Regions from separate parts of the Homo sapiens genome. Here region 2 is linked to region 1. Evidence: promoter capture Hi-C in 16 types of primary human blood cells and fetal thymus (Javierre and others, 2016). All regions are on one chromosome and are shown on one strand. Each heading gives the region's core, a stretch centred on a gene start or on the middle of the fragment in contact. The rest is flanking DNA. Distances are from core to core; before and after follow the strand shown.

What was found. The method cuts DNA at HindIII sites, captures the fragments that hold promoters and counts their contacts. A CHiCAGO score of 5 or more calls a contact.
Region 2: a fragment that was not itself captured here is called in contact with the fragment with the promoter of EAPP in region 1 in 1 of 17 cell types (activated CD4 T cells); the score reaches 6.3 in activated CD4 T cells.

What each region holds. Positions count from the first base shown.
Region 1 is chr14:34,537,721-34,542,606 of GRCh38, forward strand. It overlaps EAPP (E2F associated phosphoprotein), which reads right to left and starts at 1,981. Exons shown (of 6, transcript NM_018453.4): 1 at 1,835-1,981. The coding sequence starts at 1,908. It overlaps LOC105370447 (a long non-coding RNA gene), which reads left to right and starts at 2,029. Exons shown (of 2, transcript XR_943739.1): 1 at 2,029-2,064; 2 at 2,466-3,986. It overlaps LOC112268123 (a long non-coding RNA gene), which reads right to left. Exons shown (of 2, transcript XR_002957583.1): 2 at 3,514-4,269. RefSeq lists silencers at 1-117, 2,059-2,158 and enhancers at 1,184-2,108, 1,759-1,918. The HindIII fragment of the contact is 15,759 bases long and covers 1,029-4,886 here.
Region 2 is chr14:36,314,110-36,318,995 of GRCh38, forward strand. MBIP (MAP3K12 binding inhibitory protein 1) reads right to left here. Exons shown (of 9, transcript NM_016586.3): 2 at 2,584-2,703; 3 at 582-806; 4 at 403-499. Among named protein-coding and RNA genes, the nearest start is that of MBIP, 4.1 kb to the right of the region's middle. The HindIII fragment of the contact is 1,535 bases long and covers 2,702-4,236 here.

The DNA.
Region 1 (4,886 bases), core at 731-3,230:
TTCTAGGACCCTCAGCGTAATACCTGTAGGGTTGACAAGCAAGAGCAAGCCACACAAACATGATGCTCATGCTGCTTGCTGTGCTATGTGTAGTCTTATCTTTGACCCAGGAGTCTCATGTCTTCGGTCAGCTACCGTGAAACAGTTAACAGGCTACAATGTATTAGTTTATAAACAGTGTAAAATTAAATACTGACAGACACCTCTCTAACACTAATCTCCCTTTTTAAAATAATAACCATTTGGCTCAGAGCCTACAACAGGCAATACTGTCTGATAACATTGTTTTGTTTTTATAATATTTATCTTTACAGTTACCTTACCAGTGGCAACTGTCACAGAATTATAAAGCTTCCTTAAAAAAATGATACAACAGTCCTGGCTCCGTGGCTCAGGCCTGTAATCCTAGCACTTTGGGAGCCCGACGCAGGCAGATTGCCTAAGGTCAGGAGTTCAAGACCAGCCTGGCCAACGTGGTGAAAACCCATCTCTACGAAAAATACAAAAAATAAGCCAGGTGTGGTAGCGCATGCCTGTAATCCCAGCTACCCAGGAGGCTGAGGCAGGAGAATTGCTGGAACCCAGGAGGTGGAGGCTACAGTGAGCCAAGATTGCACCAGTGCACTCCAGCCTGGCTGACAGAGTGAGACTCTGTCTCAAAATAAATAAATAAATAAATAAATAATTGAGACATACATATATACATACCTCCTTTCACAGACAGGACCCATTAACTGAAACTCTTTTTCACAGGGAATCCTGGTATCTATCCTCACTCCCAACAAAAGAAATCTTAACAGCAGTCTGATTTCCCATGCATCCAATGTCTCCCCATGACAATATGAGGAAACATTGTTCTTTTGATTTTTTTTTTTTTTAAGAAATGAGGTCTCACTATGTTGCCCAGGCTGTTCCTTTACTACCAGGCTTAAGAGATTCTCTCGCCTCAGACTCCCAAAGTCCTGGGATTACAGGCATGGGCCACCACACCCAGCCAAAGTTGTTAATGAAAGCATGGCTTTACAGAAAGCTTCTTTAGGCAGAATGAATGTTTTAAAGTTTAAGAATAGGATCTGCTGACAGCTTAAGAAATAACTAAATTTGTGTGGAAATATCTCGGCAAAACAGCTTCAAGTTTCCCTGGTAGAATAAAGCCCACCCTTCTGGAAATCCCACGAACCTTCTTCTGTGCCTATCTCAGGTCAATATTCTCTACAATGCTCTGCCAAGAAATATATACTTTATCTTATTACCCTTATTATACTATAAGCCTCTGGAAGACAAGGACCTTATGATTTATCTCTGTAGCTCAGAGCGAGCATACAACAGTCCCTGTCAAAAAATAAAAATAAAAAAGGCTGTTCAATATTCCCTTATTTCTGTTTATGGCAGTTTAGTCTTCAAGATGGACACTTCACATTAAGTCCTGTGAGCCTCACAACAAACATAGTGTGTTATACTATGTTATATAGGTTATACAATTATGTTATTATAGTTCAATTTTACAGGTGAGTAATCGAGGATAACTGACTTGCCTTCCGTCACTCTGCTACTAAGGTGTAGAGACAGGTTTCGATCTCATTGCTTTTGAAGATTTACACGCGGTCCCCCGTGATTCCGGAATATCCCTCTTCCTACAGGCGACATCGGCACCGCCTCCCCCCGGGACTGCGCGACCCCATCAGGAAAGCCCTTTGGCTTCGCACAAGTAACAGGCACGACAGGCTCCCGAGCCGCTAGGGTCTGCGTAGGCTCGGCAGGCGCAACGAATGGAGGCGACCAAAGCCAGGCCTCGACCCAAATCCTCGGGGGCCAGGGTGGGGCGGGAGCCCACCTGCTCAAAGCCGGCTCCTCGTCGCTAGGCTCTTCAACCGCGTAGGGGTCGTAGTCATCCGGAAGCCGGTTCATGGTGGCCTGCAGCGGCCTACACCGTCCACAAGCAATTTGCAGCGTCTCTGTTTACACTGCAAGTCCAGTCCCTAAAGCGCCCCTGACGCCACTTCCGCCTGAACGTCCCAGTCCCCCTTGCGCGCCCGCGCAGACCGACAGCACCGAGGGAGGCAGGTAGAAGGCGGGGAAGGGGCGGAGCAGGAGCGAAAAGGGGCGGGGACGGGACGGGGGCGGGTCTTAATCCCACCATTTTTGTTTTGTTTTGTTTTTTGGAGACGGAGTTTCGCTCTTGTTGCCCAGGCTGGAGTGCAATGGCGCGATCTCGGCTCACCGCAACCTCCGCCTCCCAGGTTCAAGCAATTCTCCTACCGCAGCCTCCCGAGTAGCTGGGATTACAGGCATACACCACCACGCCCGGCTAATTTTGTATTTTTAGTAGAGACGGGGGTTTCTCCATGTTGAGGCTGGTCTCGAACTCCGGACCTCAGGTGATCCGCCCACCTCGACCTTCCAAAATGCTGGGATTACAGGCGTGAGCCACCGCTCCCGGCCAATCCCACCATTTTCTTCCGCAGCTTCTGCTTACAGGAAAATAGCAGCTACCTTGTCACCAAAAATAATAATGATGGGCACCCTCATAAGTGACAGTCTCTGAGGTGAACATGCTACATGCAGCGTCTCATCACCTACGAAGCAGGAATCTAGACGCTGAGGGACACACAGCCCGAAATCCAATAAGTCCTCAGACACCAGCACCCACATCCCTCCAACCTCGCCTCTAACCCTTATGCCTTCCACACCATGAGGCTCTCAACCTCTCCTTCACACTGTTCACTCCTCAGTCTGACTGCGGCCTCAACAATCTACGAAAAGTTATCTTTTCTCGTCATCTTCCCAGTCCCCACTTTTGCTCAGCCCTCAACTGATCCCACTCGATACCTGAGGAGAACAGGCAGATGACAGCCACTTGAGCTCCATCGGGAGACTGTTTCTAACCCTGTTTCTGAACCAGGAACTCGGGTTCCTGCCTCCTACCGAGACACTGTGGCACTCTCTAAAATGTGGAGTAGCTGTAATAAATCTACTCCTGTATTATGCTTTACAGTGCAGGTCTTAGTTTTTCTTTTTTCTCATTTCTTTTGAAATGGCATCTCGAACAAAGTCCACCAATCCCTTTACAAAAGAATGAACTGCTCCTCTGTGTGTACTTCATAGAAGGTGGAATCGGACAGAAGCAGGTTAGTGACAGTTATTCCTGAAATACAGGAGCAGAGTACAGTCTGTTGTGGTTTCCCGGATTCCGCGCCTAGCTCAGCCAATTAAGCATGAGACATAGGCCATTGAGCCACTTAGTAGTTATGCGAGTGGATAGATTGGTATGTAGAGGGAAAGAGGTCTGCTGTAAAGAACAACACTTGTTTGTCTGTGGGGAAAGAAAAGCAGAATACTTGAGATGAAAGTTGGCATACAAATAGGATACTATCGCCAGTAGTTATATTACAAACATTATCGGCCTTTCTAGTGTGAATGAACATTAGACACATTATTGTCATTCCTAGTTTAAAGTTAAGGTTGCGTGGTTGGATTTTTCCACTATCTTTTTCTAATTTTTCTACCATTTGGAGACCGTAGGCATTTGGGCCTGTCACCCCTTGGATGGGTTCCTAGTTTGTTTACATTTTCCTGAACCCTCCTGAGCGCCCGTTCTTGGTCTAATCCCCAGTCGTGATGATTCCACACTTCCTCAGCCGCATGTTGTCTTGCCTCATTCATGAGCTGGTCAGCGTTTCGTCTCTTTAACTGACATGTTCCCCAGTGCTGTTTGAACTGTTGAGTTTCCGTTGCTGGCTGAGTGCGTTTTGTCCTTCACGTAACCTTCGCTGGTAAAAATAAGCCCATGTGATGTCCACCAGTGGATGAATGCTGGACCGAGAGCCCTAGCTTCTGGATCCAGGTCTAGGCCCTTCATCTGCTGCTCTGTGGCCCAGGGCAGGTTTGCTTGACCTCTGCCTCAGTTCTCGACTCTAAAGGACATACTGACCTACCTCACAGGGGTGTTGTGAGGATTAATAAATGTTGGTACTCTGCTTTGGAAATGTGAAAATGCTGTGTAAATGTTAAGAAATACTAAGTATAGGGCCAGAAGCTATACAGTGTTTCACTTAACCGTTTGCCATTCTGTATTTACCAAGGTGGTCTTTTCTGGGGAAGGAAGTAGAGTGGAAGGTGCATCCCTTGGCCCCTGGTTTACATTATTAGGGTGCTTATTGTAGGAATGCACTCTAAAAAGTGGGCGTAGAATGAAAGCAGCCGTCCAGTGGTCCTCCCTTTTCTGTAGTTTCACTTTTCTTGCTTCAAGTTACAGCAGTCACCTGAAATCTGAAAATACTAAATGAAAAACTCCAGAAACAATTTATGTCTTAAATGTTGTGCTGTTCTGAGTAGCGTGATGAAATCTGTTGCCGTCCTACCTGGAACATTGAGTCATGCCTCTGTCCAGTGTGTCCATGCTGTATACACTGTCCACCCATCAACCAACCACTAAGTAGCTGTCTTGGTTGTCAACATAACAGATCACAAGAAGATTGAGGTTGGGTGTGGTGGCTTACCCCTGTAATCCCAGCACTGTGGGGGTCCAAAGTGGGAAGATTGCTTGAGCCCAGGAGTTCAAGACCAGCCTGGGCAACTAAGCGAGATCCTATCTCTCGAAAAAATTTTAAAACAACTTTTTGGCTGGGCGTGGTGGCTCACGCCTGTGATCCCAGCACCTTGGGAGGCCAAGGCGGGCGGATCACGAGGTCAGGAGATCAAGACCGTCCTGGCTAACACGGTGAAACCCCGTCTCTACTAAAAATACAAAAAATTAGCCAGGCGCAGTGGCGGGCACCTGTAGTCCCAGCTACTCGGGAGGCTGAGGCAGGAGGATGGCGTGAACCCGGGAGGTGGAGCTTGCAGTGAGCTGAGATTGCGCCACTGCACTCCAACCTGGACGACAG
Region 2 (4,886 bases), core at 2,219-4,718, 1.8 Mb after region 1:
AATATTAACTTTACTAAGTTCACTTACGTATTAACATCATGATTTCACAGTACATGTATAGGTTTGAAATTCATAGAGCTCAGTTCCTTTTACTAGTGAGATAGATCAACCTTCTCACTCGTACCTCACCTTCATTTCCTAAAGGAACTTTAAAATAATCTTCACCTGTGATAAACACTTTTTAATGTTAGCATTTACTTTGTGTAACCAAAATGAAAACCAGTTTGCAATATAGTCTATTATTAAGCAGAAGGAAACTCTACTGTCTTAATTACTAACTAAATCCATGAAATAAATTGAATTGTGTTCTAAAAGCTATTCATTTAAAAAATAAATAAAAGATTAGAGCAACTATAAAAATTGTGCTTAAAACCCTATGAAAATTAATTTCCAGGTAGTTACCTTGATTACAATCAATAACATTGCAAAATTCCCTGACGTTGTTTTCATTGATTTCAGCTTGCTTTCTTTCAATAAATGCAGATATTCGTCTGTCAATCTACAAACAACAAGTTTTAACAGTGTAAACATAAGATTTTTTAAAATAATACCCTCTCGCCCCCGCCAAAAAACCTTCTTACTTCTGCTTTTCCAGCCTTTATCTGAACTACTTCTGGATCAAAATGGATCTGTGTCTTTTTCACATCTCTTAAATCACTTTCTTTGTGCTTTTCTTCCTCTTGTAGGTCGCCAATGGAAAATTTGTCATTTACTTCATTTTTGTTCCCCATTTCTGTTCTTCCTATCTCTTCAACAGCAGTTGTATTCTCCTCTTTAATCGGAGACTGAAGTTTTGCTAAAAAAGGCTGAGAACAACACAATTCCATCTGCTGAGGTTCAATCTGACCAAAATTAATTACACACTTAATATATTTACATAAATTTCTGCTAAGTAAATGAAATACTTAATATCAGTTAATAAATATAAAAAGTTGGTATACCAGGACACATAGATCTGACCACATATAAGTACTCACTATTCTCTGCTATTGTAACCATTATCATTTGCTATAAATTTGTTTTTTAAAAAAGGAGAGAGGAAAAAAGAAAAGAAAAAAGAAAAGAAAACCTAAGGAAATTTAAAATTTTCTTTGAGAGAATCATTCTGTCACTCATCTTTTATTTTGTGCCAAATCAAAGCCTTCAGCCTCTGGCACCAATGCCACTTAATTAACATGTCATTCAAATGCCTCCTCAGAACACTAAGGCTTAGTATTTTTCCTCCTTAACACGAGAGCTAGTGCTCTCACTCAGCAAAGCCCTGCATTATCACTGTATCACTGGAGATTCTCCACTTGAAACTGCAGTTGGCCAATGTGAATGAGGAAGCATAGACATGAAATATATAGGTGTTAGGCTGAGTGAACACTCAGACTTTTCCTGACATGGCAAGATATCTTTTGGTCATAAAATTAAATTTTAAAAAAGAAAACGAACAAGAAAAAAAAAAGATCTATAGCTGAAAACAGGCAGAGGCCTATCACTATACTACAGGGGGAAAACCCCTGTTGTAGAATTTAAACTATATTACTCATTTACTGTTCCCCTCCCCCACTCCCCACAATGAGGTCTCATTTGAGTTCTAGAGCTCACTGCTCTGCCCTTTAAAAACAGGGTTAACTATTACTTTTAACATGAAACAGTTAAAATTTCCCACAAAGTCAATGAATGGAGGGCTGAAAATTAATGCCTATTCCATTAGTCAAAACACACTAACACTAATAACGTTCCAATTATTTTTTTCATACCTACAATTTTGCTTCCATTGTTCGCTATACTACTCTTTTGAAATCTTATAACACCTTAATCACAGTAAACTGACCAATCCAGTTTTTCCACTTATCTTTTTGACACTTCACATTTTACACTTTGATTAGAGATAAACTGCAAACTTACATCAATTATAATTGCAAAGATGTTCAATTAGAAACCAGCAAGGTCATAATACTGTTCAGTTATTAACATGAAATATTTAAAAATATAACAACACTATTATAAATACCAATTCAATATTAACTTCTAATATAAAGAATGAATTATTTCAAACTGTTAAGGAAAAGAAATGATAAAATAGTGACTGGCTACTTACTAAGATGAGACATTAATGTCATAGAAATTACTTTCTTTTTAAAAACTATGCTGAAACTGTTTAATTGCAATAGACACTCCAGGATGTGTCATGCTGGGATAATGCCCCTTCTTGAACCACTGAAAGCACTCCATGAGCCTCCAAACTCACCCAAGGCATGGAATCATTATCATAGCATGACACACACCTGCCGTGTCTTATTGCTTAATTATAACCCACCATAGATGGAACTGTATTGAATTTTCAGTGCAGGTCTAGAATTGAATAGAATTGCATTCATTCACTCATACCCACATTGGTCTTTTGGGCTATATTCCCTTAACTGTCCTGATCACTACTGAAATTAACAGATTTAGATTAAATCCGGATGTAAATAACGTTTTATTAGCAACACTATTAATATAGTGTTTAGAACTGTCAAATACTCCAACTAACTTAACCACAATCAATTTCTATTTTCAATATCGGGTTATCATTTCTAACAAGAAATTTACCTGTAAATATAAAATGTGTTGTTCAAGTGCACTAAAGAGCAATGCAGGCTGGAATGCCGAGAGGCTCTGGAGCTTGTTCCAATCGATTGTAATTTTCACCACATCATCTCTGAGGTCAAGCTTCAAAGGGGCAAACCAGCAACATCACAAAAATTACACGATTAAGCTCTACATATGGAATTGTCACAAAAATAAGATTTCTAGAGTAACGGGTCTATTTTGCTCTAAGTTATCAAGTTTTTAATAATACACTGAAATGCTCTACCCAGTTACCATTTCAAAAGGCCAAGAAAGCTACAGATTTTCATAAAAAAACAAAAACAAAATGACATGTCGTTCAAATTCTATTCTTAGGTCTGTGTAATGGGACCATTTTAGAGGTAAAACCATTCATGAAAGATGAAAAGATGAAGGCTCTTTTGATACTTCAATATATACAAACCTTTGGATGGAGTCCAATATAGGCTTGCCCTATTCAGAATCCTACTACTTCTAGCTCAGAGCCTTAAACAGAGGAAGTACAAGTGTTTTGTGAAAGTTTTAACATGCATCTTTCTCTTTAAGTATGTACACAAATACATATCAGAAATATATCATTATTCTGATGTCCTCCAAATCACATTTTTAGTTTTTTAACTTTTAACCGATTTTTAAACTAATTTAAAAGTCAAGATTATTCATACATATAAAGTGTAGGGATAAATGGCAACATGTTTATTTCAAATAAAAAACTATTATTTAGCAATGGAAGTCTGAAGCTGAAAAACAAAGACTTCTCCACCACAGTGAAATAAGTTGTCAGACTGGATGAAATGTCCAGATCTTTTGTAAATGCTAAGATGTGACAGCTCATTATATGGAAATTTCTATCAGTTGGTGATCTAATAGAATAAAATCATATCCAGAAAACTACCAAGAACCTGAATATAAGATTATTATCAAAATGAGTGAAAATTTTACAATGAGAGCGCCCATCTGCAGTCTTTTGAATGAATAAAAGTGAACCATCAAAAACTTTTCTAGGGACATGTGTTTACAGCATAGTATAAGACTATACTTCATAGTAGAATCAAGTTAACATAATTTATTCAAAATGAGTCATCTTTTCTACAAAATAAAGGTGTTACGTGAGTTCAAATACAGATTTTATGAGTCACAATTATAATAAAAAAGATGAATCACTGTACAAAGATCAAAAAGATATAAGGTTACCAATAAAAAGATAATATATTGAATAAATACTATGTGACAGAAATTTACTGCCCTTTGAAGATGAGAATGGAAGCATTTAAAAGTCCATATTAGACAAGTATAAAGAGATATGAAATTTCATGTAGGCTGCACTGGCAAAGATTAGAATATATTAAGATTGTACATTAAAGTTAATGCATTAATTTATATTACTTTAATTCCTATAAAGATTTTGTTAGACAACAACCTGTATTATGTATGGAAGTAACCCATTAATGTACTTTCATAGTCTTCAAGGAGATCTATAGTTGATTATAGAAAACTTAAGAATACAGCTTGGGGATAAAGCAGGCAAATCCTCAACCAAAGCAAAGTATCACATTTTCTAGAGAAAATAACTTATAGAAAAATAAGTCTTAATGTTTGGTTCATATTCTCATTTCAATTCAGCAGAATTACATAAGCTTCAAGTGCAATTAAGAATAATTAGTCTTTTAAGAAAACCACATAATGTCACAAATTAATTTTAAAACTGTCCTAATACATCTAACTATTCATTCAACAAATTCATTATTAGTAATATGAACTCTATGCATTTTGCCCTACAGAACTTGGAAGAGTAAACCACTCACTCGAAAATCTCTATTAGTCTGCTATTAATATAGACTATTTAAATATATATTTTCAGTAAAAACTTTACTAAATTAATACAAAAATCCAAGCTAAAAATAAATAATTGTTTAGCTTGGTAAGATGGACCATCCAGAGGCAAGCAAAAAGGTTAAAATTAGTAAATTTTGTGATCTTAAGTAAAAAATTATTTTTAACATTCAGTTTTATGTTTCCTACTGAGGAGATCTAATAATACAACGATACTTAGGGATGACACAGGATGAAGTTAGGCATGTTACAACATACATTCTAAATATCCTTTAAAGTGGTTGCAAAAGAAAATACTGATTTCTCTGGGGGCAATTTTATAAGTATGGAACTCTAATTTTCACTCTTAACACTTCTCAAAATATAGAGTATTATGAAAACAGTTTGTATTTAATTGATGAAACAATCATATTTTTGACACTTGTATAGGAGGTCCCTTCACTGTGTCATGG